Regions from separate parts of the Homo sapiens genome. Here region 2 is linked to region 1. Evidence: promoter capture Hi-C in human tissues and cell types (Jung and others, 2019). All regions are on one chromosome and are shown on one strand. The core of a region is centred on a gene start or on the middle of the fragment in contact, and the rest is flanking DNA. Distances in the headings are between cores, read along the strand shown.

Region 1 (4,946 bases), core at 1,467-3,966:
TTGCTTCCAACGTCCTCACACCTTTCTCCCCAGATCCTCCCCCTTCTGCTCCTTAAGACGACCACCCCAACCCCCTCCACCCACGCAGGCTCTGCCCTGGAGGTTTGTCTTCTGTGCCCTCCCACAACTCCGGGCACGCACCTGGCAGCTCTGCCCACGACCTGGGCCCAGCCGACCTTCTCTGTGAGCGCCTCCCGTGCCCCCCACGCTGAGCCCACCATGCCCCGAAGCCCTCCTGCGCCCTCTCCCACCGCCTCTTGGGAGGTGACTGACAGGCCACACCCCACCCAGGACCCATCTAAGAGCAGCGCTCACTCACCCTTCGAGGCCCTCAGGTTCCAGGCTCTCAACCTGATTGTGCACCCAAGCGGCCCGAGGCTCCGTGCAGATTCCGGGCCCCACAGACAACCGCTTCCTCCAGGAAGCCTACCGTCAAGCCCCCCTCCAGGGCTCCTGTGTCAGGAGCTGGCTCCAGGGAGAGTGCGACCCTCAGGGCTGGTCACAGGGATCAGATGAGACTCCGCCGAGCCTGGAGCTGGAAGCTGCAGCGGTGGCCTAGCAGGCATCGCCATCCGTCTGGCCCGGCCGCAGTGAGGGAAGGTGCACCCCAGATTCCTGGCTTTGCCAAAACTGTGCCTGGCGGGCACCACGCATCCTCAGGGAGGCGCCGCAGCTCTGGGGGGGGGCACCCACAGCCCTCTCTGCCAAGGGGAGGAGGGAAGGTGGGCAGAGTCGGCCCTGGGGGCCCTGCAGGCCGCGGGGTACCGGCGTTCCCATCATAGCTCCAGCCGCACGGAAGCCCCTTCACTGAGTCCTCTTGTGAGCCCTTCGGCCTGACTGGGCTGCAGAGGCCCTCCAGGCTGGCTTCCCCCTCATGCCGCCCAGCCTGGCCCCTGCAGGGCCCCAGGTGGGCCTGGGGTGGACCTGGGTGCAGGGCGGGACCCAGCCCATGCCAGGCACATACCTCCAGGCCCGCTCTGCGCCGCACAAACTTGTCTCCCAGGATTTTTCCACACGAAACCTGTCTCCCAGGGAATCAGCCAGTCCGATGAGCTGGGCGTTCCCACCCCGCCCTCCGAGGCCCCCACAGTCCTGTCCCCGCCGCAGAGGCTGCCCCGCACGCGCCGGGCCAGGGATGGAGTCCTGGACACCTCGGCCGTCAGCAGTGGCCTCTGGGATGAGCTGGGAGGCTGGCGGGATCCGGACCACGAGCCGGGTAGGTCTCCCACCCCTTCCCCACCACCCCGACCCCACCTGGTGGCCCCAGCCCGGGCCTCACCCATCCTTTCAGTGGACCTTCCCCTCCCCCTTTAACCCCCCACGCTGACCTCCGACTCCTACTCTCCAGCTTCCTCCCCTCAGAACTGACCTCACCCTTAATGCTGCCTCCTAACCCTGACCCGGCCCTCACGCCAGACCCCTGCCCCAGCCCCATTAAGGCAAAAATCTTCCAGGGACGGAGCTAGGGGGCAAGGGTCTGCCCTGGAGGAGAGCCCAGAGCCAGGGTCCAGGGTCCAGGGAGAAGCAGAGGCTGTCCGATGAGCTCGTGAGAGAAGCCCAGAGGTTGTCATAGATGTTCAGCTCCCACCCCCAGCCCTCCTAGGCTTATCCCCACCCCCATCTACCAGGGGCTTGTCCCAGAGGCTAGAGGGCCTCAGAGCCCATTTGCTGGCTGTGGTGCTAGAAGGAGACCTTCTGGGCACAAGCCCTGCTTGGTCCAGGGCCCCCCCACCAGGGGCCCCCCACTACCCCACCCCCACCAGGGGCCCCCCACCCTCGCTCCCTCTCCATCCAGGCCTCTGCTCTTCCAGACCCCTGGTTCTTCCCTGCACACCCGCTCCTGCCCCAGCCTGACATGCGCTGACAGGAGTGCAGGCCCTCTGAGTCAACCCCCTGGGGCGGCCCCGCCCCCCTGCACCCTGACTCATGTGCTGGGAACGGCCTCCCACCCCAGGGCCTGGGGTGCAGGAGCAGTGGTGCCAGGGTCCCAGAAGCCAGAGAGGGTTTTGGAGGCCTCTGTAGGGGGTGAGGGGGTCCTGGGGGTGAGTTCCAGGGTCTGCAGGCTTCGGGGGAGGGCCGGTCCATCCACATGCTTCCTGGTGCGGAGGGGGCTCGCTGGATTCCAAGGACCAGGGCCAGGGCCTCCATGGAGTCCCGTTGGACCCTAAAGCTCTGTCCCTCCAGCCTTTGTCCTGATCCCTGGCACTGACCCCTGACTCCCGACAGTGTCTCCTGCCAACCCTTCCTAGGCCTCATCCCCACCTCACCAGGAAGGCTGGGCTACCATGGAGGCTGGCTGATTCTTGGAGCTACCTAGGGCCCTAGACCCCCAGGGACTGGGGCACCCTCCCCTTCATGCTGGGGGTGGCAGGACATAGGCCCCCCGCAGGCCCCCTGCCCTTCCCTGACACTCAGGACACAGAGGGCCCCTCTGTCCCAGCCCCACGACAAAGGGCCCGGTCTGGCCTTTACAGGCTGAGAACAAGAAGGACCCAGGTCCCCGTGGCCCTGTTGTGGGATGGGAGAAAAGGAGGCGGGAGGCCAGGCTGGGACCTGGGGCCATGCAGGGCCTGTTCTTCCGCCCAAATTCCACCTTAAGCAGGCGGCGGCCCCTCCCTCCCACCTGGCCAGGTGTCCCCGCCCCCAGCTGCGCTCAGGGCTGGGCAGGCGTCTGTCTTCAGGCGGCTCTGGGTGAGGCTGGCTGGGCGGGGACTTCAGGGAGAGGGCCTCGAGGGACAGGACGTGAAGATAGTTGGGTTTGGAGGCGGCCGCCAGGCCCAGGCCCGGTGGACCTGCCGCCATGCAGGACGGTAACTTCCTGCTGTCGGCCCTGCAGCCTGAGGCCGGCGTGTGCTCCCTGGCGCTGCCCTCTGACCTGCAGCTGGACCGCCGGGGCGCCGAGGGGCCGGAGGCCGAGCGGCTGCGGGCAGCCCGCGTCCAGGAGCAGGTCCGCGCCCGCCTCTTGCAGCTGGGACAGCAGCCGCGGCACAACGGGGCCGCTGAGCCCGAGCCTGAGGCCGAGACTGCCAGAGGTAGGCGGTGGGGACAGCGGCGGGGATGGCGGTGGCGGGGAGAGGTGGCTGCGGGCGGACGTGATAGTGTGAGGGCAGAGGCCGCAGTGAGGCCGGCTCCTGACTCACCAGGCCTCACACTGAGTCACACACCCCGCCCCAGGGGCGTGGGGAGAAGCCATGGGTGGGGCTGCCCTGTCCAAGCAGGGACCCCGGGGTCCTCCAAAGACTGAGCCTGGCCAGGCCCCACCTGTGCCTGGAGTCCTGGAGCCATCCCTGTGGGGGATGACAGGGAAGGTTGGCACATGGCAGGCGGGCCAGGCCACTCGGTCGGCAAACCCGGAACACGCACGCGCCTGGCCCCGGTAGCACAGACTCACATAGGGTCTCAGGGACACCCAGACACCCACGCTCCTCCCATACCTCACGGGAATGAGCAGAACGGGAAAGCGGGGAGAGGTGTGGGGGTGCTGGAAGTCCTGGAGGAAAGCCAGGCCTGTCTGGACCAGGGGCTCCCTGAGGAATTAGAGGGGAGGGCCCGGCTGGAGTGACCTAGATTTCTCTGTGGGAACAGCAGGTGGAGGAGCACCCCTCGGTGCCAGCCAGACCCACCTGTGGCGGAATCCTGGCCCCACTCACGCGAGTGTGTGTGCATGCGTGTGAGTGTGAGTGACAGGAGCACAGACGCTGTGAGTTGAAGGCAGTGGTTCTAGGAACGCCATTTCCTCCTTCCCAGGCTACAGCAACAGGGATTAAGGTTAGACAGTAAGATGGACCTCCCAGAATGCCAGGGACCCAGATGCCAGTTCATCATGGTCCACTTGGTGTTTAGAGGGGCCTTCCCCAGGACTGGCCTCCAGCCACTGGCCAGGGGGAAGTGAAGGTCGCCCAGCGGAGGGGCCGGCCCGGCGGCCTGGACTGTGGGGTCCTCCCTCCAGGGGCCTCAGCCTTGCTGGTGACCAAGTCGGGTGCCCAGGGGTCATGGGGTGGAGGACGGTGAGGGAAGGGTTAATTACCACCCTGGCTGCCCTGCCAATTAGAGGGAGGTGGATTATAATTGGGGGGTGGGGGTGAGGTCCCCAGGCTGGGGCGTGCCCCCACTCCGGGCTGGGCCTCACGAGCGTCAGAGGGTTAATAGCCCCGGCCCAGAAGCCCCATTAACCAGGGTGAACCTGGGGCCTCTGCCATGGGGGTGTCCCCCACAGAGCATCCAGCTCTGGGCAGAGTTGTGGGAGGGCCACGGCCCCTTTCCCTGCACCCCACCCTGAGCCCCTCAGCCAGGTCGCTCTGGTGGGCCTTCTCATGCCCCCACCATCAGCCCATCCTCTCTGCACCCATCCACGAGTCCATCCCTCTGCCCACTCACCATCCAACCATGGGACCCTGTCGTCGACGGCTGTCCCACCCCTCCATCCACCACTCTGTCCATCCTTCCAGCAGTCACAGCAGCCCTCCCATCCTCCTCCTGCCTGTCCCTCCATCCACCCTCCGCCCTCCACCCTCTGCCCACCCACCTGTCTGTCCACTCACTGTGGAGTCGGGCTGACGCAGCTGCCCTTGGCGTGTGTGTGGCTGGACGGGGTGGGTGTGGCCCCTGCCTCAGGCTCTGCCGGGTGGGACAGGGCACTGCAACAGGGCATACTGGTCCAGGGAGACAGTGTCACTCTCCTGTGACCGGGCACAGATGAGGTTTGGGCACAGGAGGGGCTCAAAAGGAGTCAGTGTGGGCCGGGGCAGGCCAGGCTGGCTTCCTGGAGGAGGCTGGGCACTGTACCATGGCAAGGATTGGAGAACTGATGTCAGAGGCCCTGGCACATTCCTCCTGGCGACCAGGAGGTCAGTGGGTGAGCGTATCTGCCCTCTCGGGTAGAGGAGGCACAGCTGGGGGGTGGGCTGTGGAAGATGGACCACCAGGGCTGACATGTGAGGAGACCA
Region 2 (4,946 bases), core at 1,395-3,894, 95 kb before region 1:
TCAGTAAGCCTGGGGACTGGCAGACCGTCTCTTTTCTGGGGACACGTATCCAGCCACACATGGGCTGACCCCCTCCCAGTCTCTGCACCCGACACAGTTTGATCCCTTCTCAGGCCAATCCTGAGGCTCAGGGCTGGCACACTGTCTCTATCCCAAGGCAAGCACAGGTGGGCACACTGCCCTTGTCCTTGGTCCACTGTGGGACTGGTCCTGTCTGTCTCCAGCGCCCAGCATGGCCTCCACACACCTCTGCCTCCAGGGCTGGCTGGGCCTGCCCTCAGAGTCCCTGCCACGCCAGCCGTTGGCTGCAGGCATATCACAGATAGGGGATGCTGCCCAGGGCTCCGAGTAGACCAAAAGATTCCTGCCCACAGCCCAGGAAGAGCAGGCAGGCAACGGCGATTCCCCGGGAAGGGAAGGGCCCCGGAGTGGGGTGCTCAGAACCCTGGGCCACTGTGCTGTTAACCACCACCTCCCGGCAATGGCTGGCCTCAGCGAGGCCCCAGGGCCTCCCCGCAGCCTCGCAGTGTGCATGTCCCTGGCCCTCTCCCATCACCAGGCTGTGGTGGGTGTGTGGGGAGGCTGTGGTACACAACGCAGGTAAAATAATATGAGAACATGCACCCAGCACCAGGGGACTCAGAGAATGTTGCACACATGCCCATTTTCTGCCTTTCTGGATATAGTTTGGTTGGGGTGTGTGTGTGTGTGTGTGTGTGAGAGAGAAAGGGAAGCTGCTATCCTTCCCACATGTGTTTGTGTGTGTGTCCAGCCCCACCCATGGGATCGTCCCCGCCCTGCCTTTCTAGCCACCCTCACTGGCCCAGGAGGGAGGGAAACCACCGTGGGGACTGGGATTTCTCAGAATTAAGGGGGCACGCAGGGTCATGGGGACAGACAGAATGACCCAGAAAGGAAGGAGGTGTACACCAGACCGCAGATGGAGCCCACCCACAGGCACGGACTCTCACGCAGACTTCGAGCACGCACACACATGCGCACAGAGAGATGGGGTGGACACACGTGGGGTTGGGACGCACCCATGATGTTCTGGAGCACAGGCCGCTAAACCACAGAGCAGCAGAGATCAAAGGCCTGGGCTCTCAAACTTAGTCTAAAATACTCTGGGCCTCCGCCCCGTAAGCCACAGGCCGCCCAGTGGCTGAGAGAAGGGGACAGTTGGGGCCAAGCAGGGCTGCTGAGCTGCGGGGGGCGCTCCCGCCACTGACTCTGGGGGCTGGCCCTGTGGCATTTGGCTTTGGTGGTCCCTAGGGCAGCTCCTTCCCCCACGCTAGGCAGGAAAGAGGCCAGGAGGCACTTTCTGGAACCAGGCACTTTTAATCGTGGAACCGAGGGGCCTGGAGTGTGAGGAGGGAGGGGCAGGATCGGGGGCAGAGTTAGGGCCCGGGAACTCTCGGGTTAGGGTGAAGACCCCGGGGTCTGACTGGTTCAGCCTTAGGTGCCCATGTTGGGGCTGGAGGGCCCCAGGATCAGGATGGGGCAGGGATGGAGGCCCCACAGAAGGAGGGCCAGGCTCCGGGGAGTCAGTATTGGGCCCCAGGGGCAGCAGCCTGGGGTCAGTGTCCTGGGGCTAGTGCCCCAGATCAGGACCCAGCCTGTCAGTCATAGTCCGCGTCATCAAACTTGGTGCTGAAGAAGGCGGCAGAGTCCTTGGCCAGCCGGGCCAGGTGCAGGGCACCAGTCACCACCAGCCCCAGGAGCAGCAGTGGCGGCACCAGCGTCCACATCGCGGCCAGGATGTTGTAGCACTTGGCTTTGGAGCCAAAACGCCGGGCCGCTTCCAGGTCACCAACCACCTTCTGATCTCGGGCCTGCAGAGAGACCAGACCACAGGGCCAGATCTCTATGTGTCCTCGGGGCCTGGGGGCCCTTCCCCACCCACACCCTGGGCACCTGGAAGGCCCCTACTGCACCCAAAATCTGGATGGAGGGGTGTGGCCTGAGGAGATACTCCTTGGGGCCCCAGCTATGGACCCGGGGGCCATCCCAGGCCAGTGTCAGCCTATCAGAGCTCTCTATGGGTGAGGGTCCCCCAGGGTGCTGAGACACCCCCCACCCTGCCAGCCAGGAGCTGAAGTCAAAGGGACCTCTGTTCCAGAAGCCCACAGCATGTGAACCCCCTCTTGATTGCAGAGACCTCTGTGGGTGCCTCCCAATGGCCTCTGTGCTCTTGGATGGGCCAGACCCCGTTAAGAAGAGGCCCCCCGGCCTTGCCTTCGTGAGGAGCTCTTTCCCGGCCATACTGATAGCTGTGCCCACAGAGCCCCTCACGGACAAGCAGAGCCCCCCGCGGCCCCCAGCACGGCAAGGACCCCCCACGGAGCTCCCCATCCCTCCCCCTTCCCCCCACCTTGATGGAGTAGTGGAGCCTCCCCCGCAACCTCGGTAGGGCCCCTGCCCACCTTGATGGAGTAGGCCAGCGCCAGGAAGCCGAGGCAACACAGATTCAGGTAGAGGGTGCTGAACACCGACCAGATCAAGTGGTCTCGAGGCGGGGGGTGCGGGGCCCCCAGTGTGAGGGCTGTGTGGGCACCGGCCTTGCTGGGCGTGGGGGCCCGGGTGTCCTCGCGGGGATACGCCGTGTCCATGGGTTCCAGCGCCGTCTCTTCCACACTCAGACTGGTGCTGGGAGGGTGGGCACCCGCTCACTTATAGCCCTGTCGCCCTCCCGGCCCAGCCCCTCAACGCTATATATAACACAAATTACAGCCTGCGGGCCGAGGGTGCGGCCCGCCCCTTAGCCCCCACCCCAGGGAGCCCCTGTCCGAGGCTGCCTTGGACCACCCAGCAGGGTCCCTCCTGACAGACATCCCATCTGGGAGCCCCCCGCTTGGAAGGCTACGGCCGGGCAGTGGCAGAGACCCCCACCCATCCCCCCACCCCCATCAAAGGCTGCTGGCCAAGTGGGCAGTGGGCAGACCACTGGCCAGAGCCCCCTCCGTCCAGGCCAAGAAGAGTTGGAGGTGTCGCCTCAGGGCCATGGGCCTCATAATTCAGGGATGTACAGGAGCCCCCTCCTCAGAACCAGAGCTGCTGAAACTGCAGCCCCTTCATTCCCAGAACTCAACTCTGCCCCTAACACTCTCAGAGCACCAGCGCCAGGCCCTAGGAGCGCAGGCATCCCTGCAAGGGGGACAGGGAGGGCGGCTGTCGGAGGAGGGCGCGAGAGAGAAGGAGAGAACCACATGGGGGGAAAGCCAGGGGGTGCAGCCTGTTAGGAGCCGGCAGGGGAACCCCCAGGGACCAGCAACAGCTGTTAACACTGGTGTCGGGATGCAGGGAGCCTGTGGGCTCCTGTGGTGGACACTCCCCTCAGCCTCCTCGGCTGCCCTCCCTGATCCCAGAATGTCTGTGGTGAGTGGTCCTGTTTAGGGCTCAAGGTCCGCCCCAGTCTTGTCTCTGGCTGTAGATGCCTGTGTGTGCTGACGACTCACATTTATGTCTTCAGCCCAGACTTCCCCCCAAAGACATTGGCTTGGTCCCCAGCTCTGGACACACACACGCAACTCCTGCTCTGTGGACCTCCACCCACGTGCCAACAATAGACCCTGGATCCTCCCTCCCAACCTCCTCTGCCAAGCCTTCCCCGGAGCAGTGGTGGCAACTGCACCGGGCCAGAAGGCTCAGCTTCCCCGTCTCCCAGTCGGCCACACTCCTGAGTGCCCAGGACCAAGCTGCCCTCCCTCCTCCAGGACGCACACTCGCCACCTGCAGGGGATGGTTGGGTGGGGGGTTCCTTGCTGCTGTGCTTGAGCCTGTGAACCCCAAATATCTGAGACAGGTCTCGGTTAATTTAGATTATTTTGCCAAGATTGAGGATGTGCCTGTGACAGCCTCTGGAGCTCCTGAGGATCTGTACCCAAGGTGGTCGGAGCACAGTTTGGTTTTATACATTCTAGGGACACAGGAGACATCAGTCAACATATGTAAGATGAACATTGGTTCAGTCTGGAAAGGCAGGACAATGCAAAGCAAGGCAGGGAAGACTCGAAGTGGGGAGGCGCTTCCCGGTCGCAGGTAGATAAGAGACAAAGGTTGCATTCTTTTGAGTTTCTGACTTGCTTCTCCAAAGGAGGCAACCAGATATATGCATTCACCTCAGTGAGCAGAGGGGTGACTTTTTTTCTTTTGTTTTTGTTTTTTTTTTTTTTTTTGTGAGACAGAGTCTCACTCTGTCGCCCAGGCTGGAGTGCAGTGGCGTGATTTTGGCTCACGGCAACCTCCGCCTCCCGGGTTCAAGCGATTCTCCTGCCTCAGCCTCCCGAGCCGCTGGCACTACGGGCTCCCGCCACCACGCCCGGCTAGTTTTTGTATTTGCAGTCGAGACGGGGTTTCACCATGTTGGTCAGGATGAAAAAAGCTAACTCTGTAAAGTATTTAAAGAGGTTTGTCCTACGCCGAATATGACTGACCACGGCTCATGATACAGCCTCCAGAGTTCCAGCAAACGTGCCAAAGGTGGCTGGGCTACAGCTTGGTTTTATACATTGTAGGGAGACAGAAGTTGCAGGCAAAGACATAGATCAATACAAGTGTCAACGAAAAGAGTCCAACTCTGCGAAATATTTGAAGAGATTTATTCTGAGCCAAATATGAGTGACCATGGCCTGTGGTGCGGCCCTCAGGAGGTCCTGAGAACATATACCCAAGGGGCTCAGGGCACAGCTTGGTTTTATACATTTTAGGGAGACATGAGGTATCAATCAAATACATTTAAGAAATACATTGGTTTGGTCCAGAAAGGCGGGACAACACAAAGCTGGGGGTGGGGGGGGTGGGGGGAGGGGCAGCGGTGTTCCAGGCTATAGGTGAGTTTAAACATTTTCTTGTTGACAATTGGTTGAGCTTGTCTAAAGACTTGGGATTGGTAGAAAAGGAGTGTTCAGGTTAAGATCAAGATTGTGGCCGGGTGCGGTGGCTCATGC

The links. The method cuts DNA at HindIII sites, captures the fragments that hold promoters and counts their contacts. A contact is called where the count stands out against the background at its distance.
Region 2: a contact is called between the fragment with the promoter of IFITM5 here and the fragment with the promoter of PKP3 in region 1, in 4 of the 25 tissues and cell types used here (H1 embryonic stem cells, IMR-90 fibroblasts, adrenal gland and 1 more).

What each region holds. Positions count from the first base shown.
Region 1 is chr11:391,493-396,438 of GRCh38, forward strand. It overlaps PKP3 (plakophilin 3), which reads left to right and starts at 2,717. Exons shown (of 13, transcript NM_007183.4): 1 at 2,717-3,032. The coding sequence starts at 2,801. RefSeq lists enhancers at 2,170-2,932, 4,891-4,946. The HindIII fragment of the contact is 50,700 bases long and covers 1-4,946 here.
Region 2 is chr11:296,882-301,827 of GRCh38, forward strand. It overlaps IFITM5 (interferon induced transmembrane protein 5), which reads right to left and starts at 2,645. Exons shown (of 2, transcript NM_001025295.3): 1 at 2,424-2,645; 2 at 1,319-1,832. The coding sequence starts at 2,609. The coding sequence ends at 1,620. RefSeq lists an enhancer at 1,816-1,975. The HindIII fragment of the contact is 20,921 bases long and covers 1-4,946 here.